Linked DNA regions of Homo sapiens: region 1 is linked to region 2. Evidence: promoter capture Hi-C in human tissues and cell types (Jung and others, 2019). All regions are on one chromosome and are shown on one strand. The core of a region is centred on a gene start or on the middle of the fragment in contact, and the rest is flanking DNA. Distances in the headings are between cores, read along the strand shown. Region 1 has its middle 15 kb from the start of LINC01301. Region 2 holds the start of CHD7 (chromodomain helicase DNA binding protein 7).

Region 1 (4,913 bases), core at 1,936-4,435, 250 kb after region 2:
TGGGGACTGTTTAATCATAAAATTTACTTATGGCAGACTTTTGGTTTTGTGTTCTGTAATGTTGGATTGTGAGCTCATCTTCAGCAGGCTTTTACCTATGGGAATACTGTGAGATCCAGATCAAGTCATCCCTAAGAGTGGATCTGTTTACTTATACTAGATTTCAAGGAAGTATCACCAACGTAGGACTACATTTATTTTTTGTGTGTGTTTTAGATATTTTGATTTTTTGTTGATTCTTTTGAATAGTTAATGTAAGTTGCAACGTGAAAGAGGTTTCTTTCCATCTCTGTACTCCATTCACACAATTTACCCTCCCAGATGGAACTGCTGTTGGCAGTTTCTTATTCTTTTCTTCATTTATTTAACAAATGCTGAGTGTCTATGTTCCAGGCCTTGTTCTAGGAAGTTGGGATACATCAATTAAAAAAACAGACAAAGGCTGGGCGTGGTGGCTCACTCCTGTAATCCCAGCACTTTGGGAGGCCGAGGCGGGCGGATCACAAGGTCAGGAGATCGAGACCATCTTGGCTAACACGGTGAAACCCCGTCTCTACTATAAATACAAAAAATTAGCCGGGCGCGGTGGCGGGCGCCTGTAGTCCCAGCTACTCGGGAGGCTGAGGCAGGAGAATGGCGTGAACCTGGGAGGCGGAGCTTGCAGTGAGCCAAGATTGTGCCACTGCAATCCGGCCTGGGCTAAAGAGCGGGACCCCGTCTCAAAAAAAAAAAAAAACAAACAAACAAACACAAAAATTCCTGTTTCCAGAAAGTTTACCTTCCAGGGGAGCGTGTGTGTGTGTATATATACTGGGAGGGGGGCAGAAAATAAATAACAAACACAACCAATAACTAAATTGTATAAGGTGATTGACAGTCAGAGTGATAGGTGAATGGGACAAGTAAAGCAGTGTTAGAAGAGTAAGAGTGCTGGGGCCAGGGACCAGCTGCCTTAATACATGATATCCTCATGGTAAGTCTCCTTGACTTGATGAGACTTGATCAAAGACTTTAAAAGGCAACTTGTTAGCAAGTGGATAAGTGGGGATGCATGTTCCAGGCCAAGGGAACAGCTAGATCAAGGGGTATAAGGAAGGAACATGCCTGGCGTGCTCACAAAATAGCAAGGAGCCTAATGTGCTGCAGTGGAGGGCAGGAACGGGGAGTAGTGAAATATCTAGAGGTATGGGAGTACAGATCAGACAAACTCTTGTAAGCCATTGGGAAGACCTTGGCTCTTACTTTGGGTGACACTGGAAGCCATTTCAGGAATTTGAGCCAAACAGTGGCATGATTTTATATATATATATATATATATATATAATTATTATTATTATTTTTTTTGAGATGGAGTCTTGCTGTATTACCCAGGCTAGAGTGCAGTGGCACGATCTCAGCTCACTGCAACCTCTGCCTCCTGGTTCAAGTGGTTGTCCTGCCTCAGCCTCCCAAGTAGCTGGGATTACAGGCATACACCACCATGCCCAGCTAATTTTTGTATTATTAGTAGAGACAGGGTTTCACCATGTTGGCCAGGCTGGTCTCAAACTCCTAACCTCAAGTGATCTGCCTGCCTCAGCCTACCAAAGTGCTGAGATTACAGGTGTGAGCCACCGCCCCCAGCCATGATCTTCTATTTTTAAAGGCTCACTCTGGCTTCTAAATTTAAATTACAGTGTGTGAGTGTGGTGGGGGGAAAAAGGTAGAAGCAGGGAGACCTGTGAGAAGTTGGTGCAGTGATGCAGGTTGTCTTATATTCTTTCATGAGATGATCAGTTTGAGGAGGCCACAAAAAGGGACACAAAAGAGGCATAGGAAAACATAGTTTGTTATCCTCACAGGTCCTAGAGAGATAGAGTCACTGCACACCACAAGAGGGTCACACAGGAAGGGTACCAAAGGAATAAGCTCAGCCAAGCAGTGGGGAGAAGTGAAAGAATGAGGACACTGGGCCAAGTAATTCGGGGTTAGGGTAGAGTATATAAGAAAAGTTGCAAGGTGATTTCACTGGTGTATTTGAATATCACTGGTCGCAGTCTGGGAAGAGCAAGAAGGAGAACTTACGTCTTGCGTCAATATTATCACATAGGCTCATCTGGTTGCCTGGGTGGAATGCTCCCAGTCTATTCATGGAGATGTTGAGGCAGCAGGAAAATATGATGTTTCAAAATTTACAATACACAGGAATTCTTATGATGTTGATTTTGTCCAGGGTGGTGGCCATGGAGAAGGTGTAATGCAGTAGGATTCTAGACATATCTTGAAGATAGATCCAATGGTCTTTCCTGATGAATTGGATGTGGGATGTGAGAGCCAGCACAGACTCAAGGATGACTCTAAGGGTTTAGAACAAAGCAGCTGGAAGGATGGATTTACTGTCAGTGAAAATGGGGAAGGATGTGGAGGAACAGGCTTGAGAGGATATAAGAAAAGTTTTGGATTTTAGATGTCTCATGCATCTAAGCGGAGATTTTGAGTTGGCTGTTGAATATCCGAGTCTGGGTTGTGGGAGAGAGGTCTGGGCCAGAAGTATAAATTTGAGAGCAACCAGTTTAAAGTGATCAACAAGCCTTGAGACTGGGTGAGATCACTAATAGAGTGAGTATCACTAGAGGAGAGATGAGGATCAAAGACTGAGCCTGGGACACATTTTTAGGTAAGATGGTCTGTGCATATGCAACATATATGTACCTGGCTATTATTACCTTTTACATTAGTGGCACTCTATTACCTGCACTGTTTTGTATCTTACTTTTTTTTTCTCACCATAGATCTTATTTTATACTGTTCCATGTTTATGTTATTTTCTTAGGCTCCATGCTCCAGAACCCTCACAAGGTGTAAATTTCAACCACAAGCTTAGGTGAGGGCAGACCTATTGTTTCAAATTATCAGGGAGGGTTTTTTTCCATCAGAGCTTGTGTTAGGATAGACCAGCTTCCTTGTCATCTCCTTGTGTTTGTGGACAGGTTTTTCTAGTCTTTACTTTTCTTGCTGTTGTTGTTGTTGAACATCTTTTCTTTTTGAATTTTTAAAATTTAATTTAATTTAATTTTAAATTCCAGGATGCATGTGCAGGATGTACAGATTTGTTACATAAGTAAATGTGTGCCATGGTGGTTTGCTGCACCTGTCAACCCATCACCTAGGTATTAAGCCCTGCATGCATTAGCTATTTATCTTGATGCTCTCCCTCCCCCCATCCCCCACCTTTACTTTTGCTGAGTTGTAGGAGCCTTCTCCTTTCTCGTGAGCTATTCTGTGCATTCAAGGGATTGTTATACTCCATGCAGTATTTGTGCATAAGGCTTTTCTTTTAAATTTAGTCTTCTGTATAGCCTTAAGTATACCCACTATCCAATCTTTGCTGTGGTCACTGTCGTAGTTCAGGCCCTCTTAATTTATTGTTTTACTACTTCACAAGCCACCTGGCTGAACTCTTTTTGCCAGTCTCTCTTCTTTCATGTTTTCATCAGATGGATTTTTGTGATGCAAATCTGAAGATTCTATTCCCTGGCCTACAGGTTGGTTGTTTTTTTGTTGCGGTTTTTTTTTTTTTTTTTTTTGACTTTCTCTCCCAAGAAAGATAAATCTCAATGTCTTCAGTAGGGGTTGTAAGAGATCTTTGCTTCCTCTTTTATTTAACACTCTCTACCCATGGTTTTGTTCCATTTAACCTAAGTGGTTTTTTTTGTTTTTGTTTTATTTTTGAGGCAGAGTATCACTCTGTCACCCAGGCTGGAGTGCAGTGGTGCAGTCTCAGGTCACTGCAGCCTCTGCCTCCCAGGCTCAAGTGATTCTTGAGCCTCAGCCTCCTGAGTAGCTGGGATTACAGGCCACCACCATACCCAGCTAATTTTTGTATTTTTTAGTAGAGATGGAGTTTCTTCATGTTGGCCAGGCTGGTCTCAAACTCCTGGCCTCAAGTGATCTACCCGCCTCAGCCTCCCAAGGTGCTGGGATTACGGGTGTGAGCCACCATGGCTAGCTGAACCTAAGTGTTTTTTAAACACATTATGCTCTCTTATGCTTTCTTAGCTTTGCTTAGTCTACATTATTATCCTGGAAGGATTTTTCTGCCTAGTTATCACCAGATGGCCTCTAGGACTGGCTTCAAATGCCTTATTCTTTGAAAGGTCTGTTTTCAGAATGGATCAGGATGCTTTCTTTTGGTTTCCAACTCCTTGCTCCATAGTTCCAGTACACACTCTTATTATTATTCTCATTTTTCACATTGTGATGGGAGCTTCCCCATTTAGAAGGAGCAAACCTTGAGACAGGAACTGTCTTCTCATCCCTGGTGCCTAGCACTGAATGTGTCTGGTACATAACACGTACTCAATAAACATTTGTTGAATGATTGGAAATATGGAAACAGGAATGGAATGCATTGTATCTTTGCAGAATTGAAGATTTTGTGTTGATTTAGAAGGTCAAGATGCTAAAAAATATGGAGATTTAAACATGTTTTGAAAAATCCACTTTTTTGTGTTAACACCTAAATGATACCTGTGTGAAATGAGAATTGTTAAATAACAACAGGAAATTGAAATTACTACACTTGTTCAAATCTAGCAAAAATAGAAGCCCATTCAAAACAGAAGAACACTTTATGTATCTTAGGACTACTTATATAAATATAATGTAAAACAAATCTTCAGGGTGCATTAACAGTGGCCAAAAATGATAAAATGATGAAATGGCATTTGCAATTTAGGATGGGAGGGTGATGTGCAAAGCTGAGGCCATCAGGACTGTTGAGATTGTGTGATTTCTTCTGCTTTAACTGACTGTAAGCTCCCTTAGGGCGGGGGTCACATGGGGCTTGATACCTAGCAAGTGCATAATATGTATCATTGAACTAAAATGTTCTTGAGGATACTGTGCGGTTTTTTTTTGTTTTTTTTGTTTTT
Region 2 (4,989 bases), core at 62-2,561:
CGCCGGCGGCCCGGCCAGCTCGACAAGGTGGGGTCCCCTCCTCGCCGCGCCTCCCGGCGCTCGCCCCGGCCCCGCTCCCTTTCTTCTCCTCCTAGCGCACTTGGGAGCCGCCGGGGAGCCCCAGGAGCCCCCAACTCCGGGCTCGCAACTCCGCGCCCGCGACCGGCACTGGCTGAGCTCGGGACGCCTCCCGCGCCGCGTGTTCGCGCTGCCCCCGCCCCACGCGGCGCCCCGCGCACTTTCCCCGCCGCCGACCCACCTCGCTCGGTGGCGGTCCCCGCGCGGGCTGGCGCCGCCGCGCCGGGAGGAACGCACTTTGTTCGCGCCGGTGCGGCCGCAGCTCCCGGCGAGCGCGGCGTGGTCGGTCCGGAGCGGGGGGCGGGGGCGGGAGGCGGGGGTCGCCGCCGTCCCCGAGCCGCCGCCGCCGCTGCTCAGCCGCCCCGCGCCCGCGCGCCCATCGCCCGCTCGCACTTGAGTTGGAGCCCAACTTTTCCTCCTTCCTTTTTCTCTCGAATGGAGCCGGCAACTCGTGCTCGGCGCCGGCGGGAGGAAACGCGCTCGCGCTCCCCCGCGCGCAGACACGCTCCCTCCTGTCCCCCGTACCCCCCCCCCACGCCGGCAGCACAACAAAAAGCCATTTACATGCGAGGAAGTGACCCTCGGCCGCACCGCGCGCCCCCGCCGCCGCCGGCCCGGCGGACGCAGGCAAAAGTTGGGGCGCCGGGCGGCGCTCGGGGCGCGGGTTCGGGCCCCGCGGGCGGCGACGCCGGCGACACTACGCGGGCGGCGCTGCGCTCCTGCGCTGGCCCCGGCCCCCTCCCGCCCTCGCCCCTCGCCCCTCGCCCCGCACACGCCCAACTCCTCGCTCCCAACTCCTAGCGCGGCCCCGGCCCCGGCCCGGAGCGATTTCCTGCCGCCGCCGCCGCCGCCGCCCCTCCCGGGGGCGCCGGGCGAACTCTCGCGCTCACCGGGTCGGTCGGGCTCCTCCGCTGCCTAGTGCCGAGGGGAAAACAAAACGCAGAGCGGGCTCCGGAGTTGGCTCGGCAGCTGCGGCCAGGGGGCTGAATCCACGGGCACGGAGTTGGCCGGGGGCGAACGGGTCTCTGGTGAGTTTCAGGGTGTCCGGGTCCCCGGGCCGCCTCCTCCGCGGCGCTCCTTTGTGTAATTTCACTCGATTCAAGTTTAATCCGATAGTTCCCGAGCACGAGCGCGTCCGCACCACCACGACTCAACCCCCGCGCCGCCGCCGCCGCCGCCGCTGCCGCCGCCGCCGCCGCCGCCGCCGCGGCCCCAGCACGCCAGCGCCTGCGCGCGTCCGGCACGCCGCGCGCACCCGAAGCCGCGGGGCCGCGCGCGCCCGCCGCCAGCTCCCTCCGGGCCGCGCCGCGCCCGCGCCCGCGCCCGCGCGCCGCCACCTGACGTCAGGCGCGCCTGGCATAATTTATGCAAGAATTCGGCCGGGGTGGCGGAGGCCGAGGGAGAGGCCGAGAGAAAAGGGGCGGCGCGGAGCTGCTGGGCCGCGGGCCGCGGGCCGCAAGGGCGGGCCGGGCGCCACTTCCCGTCCCCTGGCGGGCGCCGGCGCTTCAGGCGGGTCTCCCCGCCGGCCGGTGCGCTGCTGCCGCGGAGTCTTCCTTGCCCGGCTGCACGGAGCGCTCGGCCGCTGCGCCCGGGCGCGGACTGGAGGGGCTGCTGCCACGTCTCCCGCGCGGCACCTTCCCGGAGCCGGGTGCGCCGCCCCGGGGCAGGAAGCGGGGCTCCGGGAGGGCTGCGACCCTCCTGGCTGCCGCGAAGGGTTTCCGACGCTGCGCGGCCGGCGGCGGCCGGGGGTGACTGGCAGTCTCTGCAGTAATTATCCTTCAACTTGAAATTATTTTCCCACATGAAATTATTCGGAAGGGACATGTTCCATTCCAGATGGGTTCGTGCCTGCTTCTCCACATCGCTTTTCCCACCTCTTCGTGGATAGGACACCGGATCCACTACTTAATCAAAAAGTTTAACTAGATGGCATTGATTTTGTCGAATTTGTTACCATACCAAAAAAGAGAGAGAAGGCAGAGAGCTCAATGATTATGAAACAAAGAAATAGGATGTATGCCCATTATTAAACGTGTCGGGACTAGAATGTTTTACTCATTCTTTGGCCAAAATGGCACTTGTATCTGATTGCATAGTCTTAAAAATCCGAGCCTCTTATTCCATTTCTCTTCCCGGTACAAAATGAATGTTAAACCTGAAGAAAAAAAACTTTTTTTTACTAATTTTTATTTTAGGAAATAGATCTACAAACATGGATTAAGCCTCTTCTATCTGCAAAATACGGAGCAATTATAATGTGTTTAAACCATCAATTGTAAACTTTAAGATAATTTTATTAGGTTAAAGATTGCACTTATTTTAAAATCAGGAAAGGAACTCATATCAACCAAAGATTGCCCTATGGCAGGTACAGACTGACTGGTTATTACTGGACTCCAAAATAAACTGAGAAAATAGCAAAACTATGTAAAATGTACTAATCTCACTCACTGATGGTTACACTACCTGTAGTGCTAAGCCTGTAATCACAATATTGTTATTTGGACAAAAGATTAATCAAAACTATCTCATTAAGTAACTACTGCAACTATTCAATAAGTTTGATTATCCTAGACTTAATCACTAAGACATTGATTTTCTGATTTTAGTAATAATTCTATAAATATATCACATTATATTGTGGTTTGTTAAATGCACTGCTTTTAGCTTGCTTTCATCATGTATTTGAGTTTTGTTCTAAAAGAAATAAATGTTTTAATGTTTAAGGAGCTTACAGATCATCAAAAAGAACATAGAAGACAGTACAGAAAGAATTCTGGCATTTAAAAAGTTGAAACCACTAAAATCAACTTCCATCTGTTTTAAACCCGGTATCACAAACCAAGAATCACAACTCTGAGGTTAGGCTACTGTTTCCATTAAGTTTATATTTCCCAATGAAAGTATATGAAAGGTGCTTTAGGGGTGTGTGGGGCGGGGGGGTCAAAAACAGGACACAATGTCTAGAAAAAAAATCGCTAGTACCTGACTATATTAGAACACATTTTTAAAATAATGTGCCATAAAAAATTATGTCTTATCTTTTACAGTGTGCCACAGCTCGATATCAGATGTGCATCTATTTCAAGGCAATTCACAGGAGAAAAAAAATGACATCTACATATAGTGAAATTACAATATTGCAATTAACTTGTTATCAACAAATATGACTATGAGGAGATTCCCTGTGCTCTTGTACATTTAACTCGAAAGCTAGGAAACTTCCTTTTGATATATACCAGTACCCAATGTAAAAACAGTCCTACAGAATATAAGTCCTCTGACTTATAGTCTCCTTATCCTGATCACTGCCCTGAGCCATCATGAAGAAGTCTCTAAGCTTTTAGATGTTGTGGTGGTGTGGAACGTAAGGGGCCTTAAAAAGTAGAGGCCCTCAGGGGCAAACTCCTAGGCAGATCTGGCCTACCTGAGTCATAGCTCTCACCACACCACCACCATCCCCCAACACTCCCCTTTAGCCTGAAATGTTTTTTCTCCATTTGCTTCACTATTGAAGTTTTCCCAATGAGAGTAATTTGAATTCACAAGCTTTCTCTTTAAGTATGCAAATACCTTAGGGTGAGATAAGGGGCTACTGGTCTTTCACAGATGAGTGTAAATTGGTTCAATGGGTTGCTTTCCTCCCAACAGCTAGCCAGAGTAACAAATTTAGAGACTTAGCCATTCATTCAACTTCGAGTGCCTAAGAGTTTCCAGGATTGGTTCTAGGTACTGGAGATATAGTAGTGAACAAAACAGACAAAACGTCCTGCCCTCATGGAGTTTACAATCTAGTGGATTGGTAGTTTTGATCTGGTGATAAGGGAGAATGTTAATTTTGGAGTCTGAGCCCTGGAGGAATAGGACAGACCTGAGTTCCGTGTAGCCAGAGGACAGTGGAAAGGTACTAAGGACCTGGGAAGGAGGGCATTGAAGAATGGAGCGGGCCAAGCAGAAAGCAGTTGAGAAAAACACCAAAGAAAATATGACCCACTACAAAAAGGTTGTCTAGGCCCTAGGTCATGAATAGATACAGTCTATTTGAAGAGCTCAGACTTAATGCTGAATTCCACAGACAAATAAATATCTCTGGAAAAATAGCCCAGAATGTATCAACCTATAATACCTGTGGTGAGGGGGTAATGTGCACATCTAAAATAACTGAAAAAACACTCTAACTCTCAAACACTTAAAAATCAAGTCCTATCTATATTAAATGTTTCCAACTTTAAAATATTATGTAAATTACACTAATTCCAGTGTTGAGGGCATCCTTCAGTATATTTTTGGAACTCATCTTTTGAAATTGTGTTCAGAACCAATTTGCAAGTACTGGAAAATAACTCTCTTTAGCGCCACATATTTTTCCCCCACTAAAAACTGTTATTTTTCTTCATTCACCAAATTTACATCCAAATGACTTTGGCTAGCTCCAAACAATATATTTTGCCTCTAAATGATGAAGGTTTACTGCCATTGAAGATACATAAATAATTAAAATATAAATATATAGAGGGGTATAAATGCTGAAGAAAGCAGCAAAAAGAAAAGTCTAAAAAACTTTTTCTGCTTCACTGGGATAATGGCATAATCCTCCTCTGTAATTTTTTCTTTTTTTTTTTTTTTTTTTTTTGAGACGGAGTCTCACTCTGTCACCCAGGCTGGAGGGGGCAGCGGCGAAGTCTCAGCTCACTGCAAGTTCCACCTCCCTGGTTCACACCATTCTTCTGCCTCAGCCTCCCGAGTAGCTGGGACTACAGGCACCTGCCACCACGCCCGGCTAATTTTTTTTTTTTTTTTTTTTTTTGTATTTTTAATAGAGACAGGGTTTCACCGCATTAGACAGGATGGTCTCGATCTCCTGACCTCATGATCCGCCCATCTCGGCCTCCCAAAGTGCTGGGATTACAG

Evidence for each region. Contacts are between HindIII fragments. The study calls those that stand out against the background at their distance.
Region 1: a contact is called between a fragment that was not itself captured here and the fragment with the promoter of CHD7 in region 2, in 1 of the 25 tissues and cell types used here (thymus).

Annotation. Positions count from the first base shown.
Region 1 is chr8:60,426,397-60,431,309 of GRCh38, reverse strand. No RefSeq gene overlaps it. Among named protein-coding and RNA genes, the nearest start is that of LINC01301, 15 kb to the right of the region's middle. The HindIII fragment of the contact is 5,621 bases long and covers 375-4,913 here.
Region 2 is chr8:60,675,062-60,680,050 of GRCh38, reverse strand. CHD7 (chromodomain helicase DNA binding protein 7) reads right to left here and starts at 1,311. Exons shown (of 38, transcript NM_017780.4): 1 at 969-1,311. RefSeq lists silencers at 1-203, 864-963, 1,324-1,763. The HindIII fragment of the contact is 11,242 bases long and covers 1-4,989 here.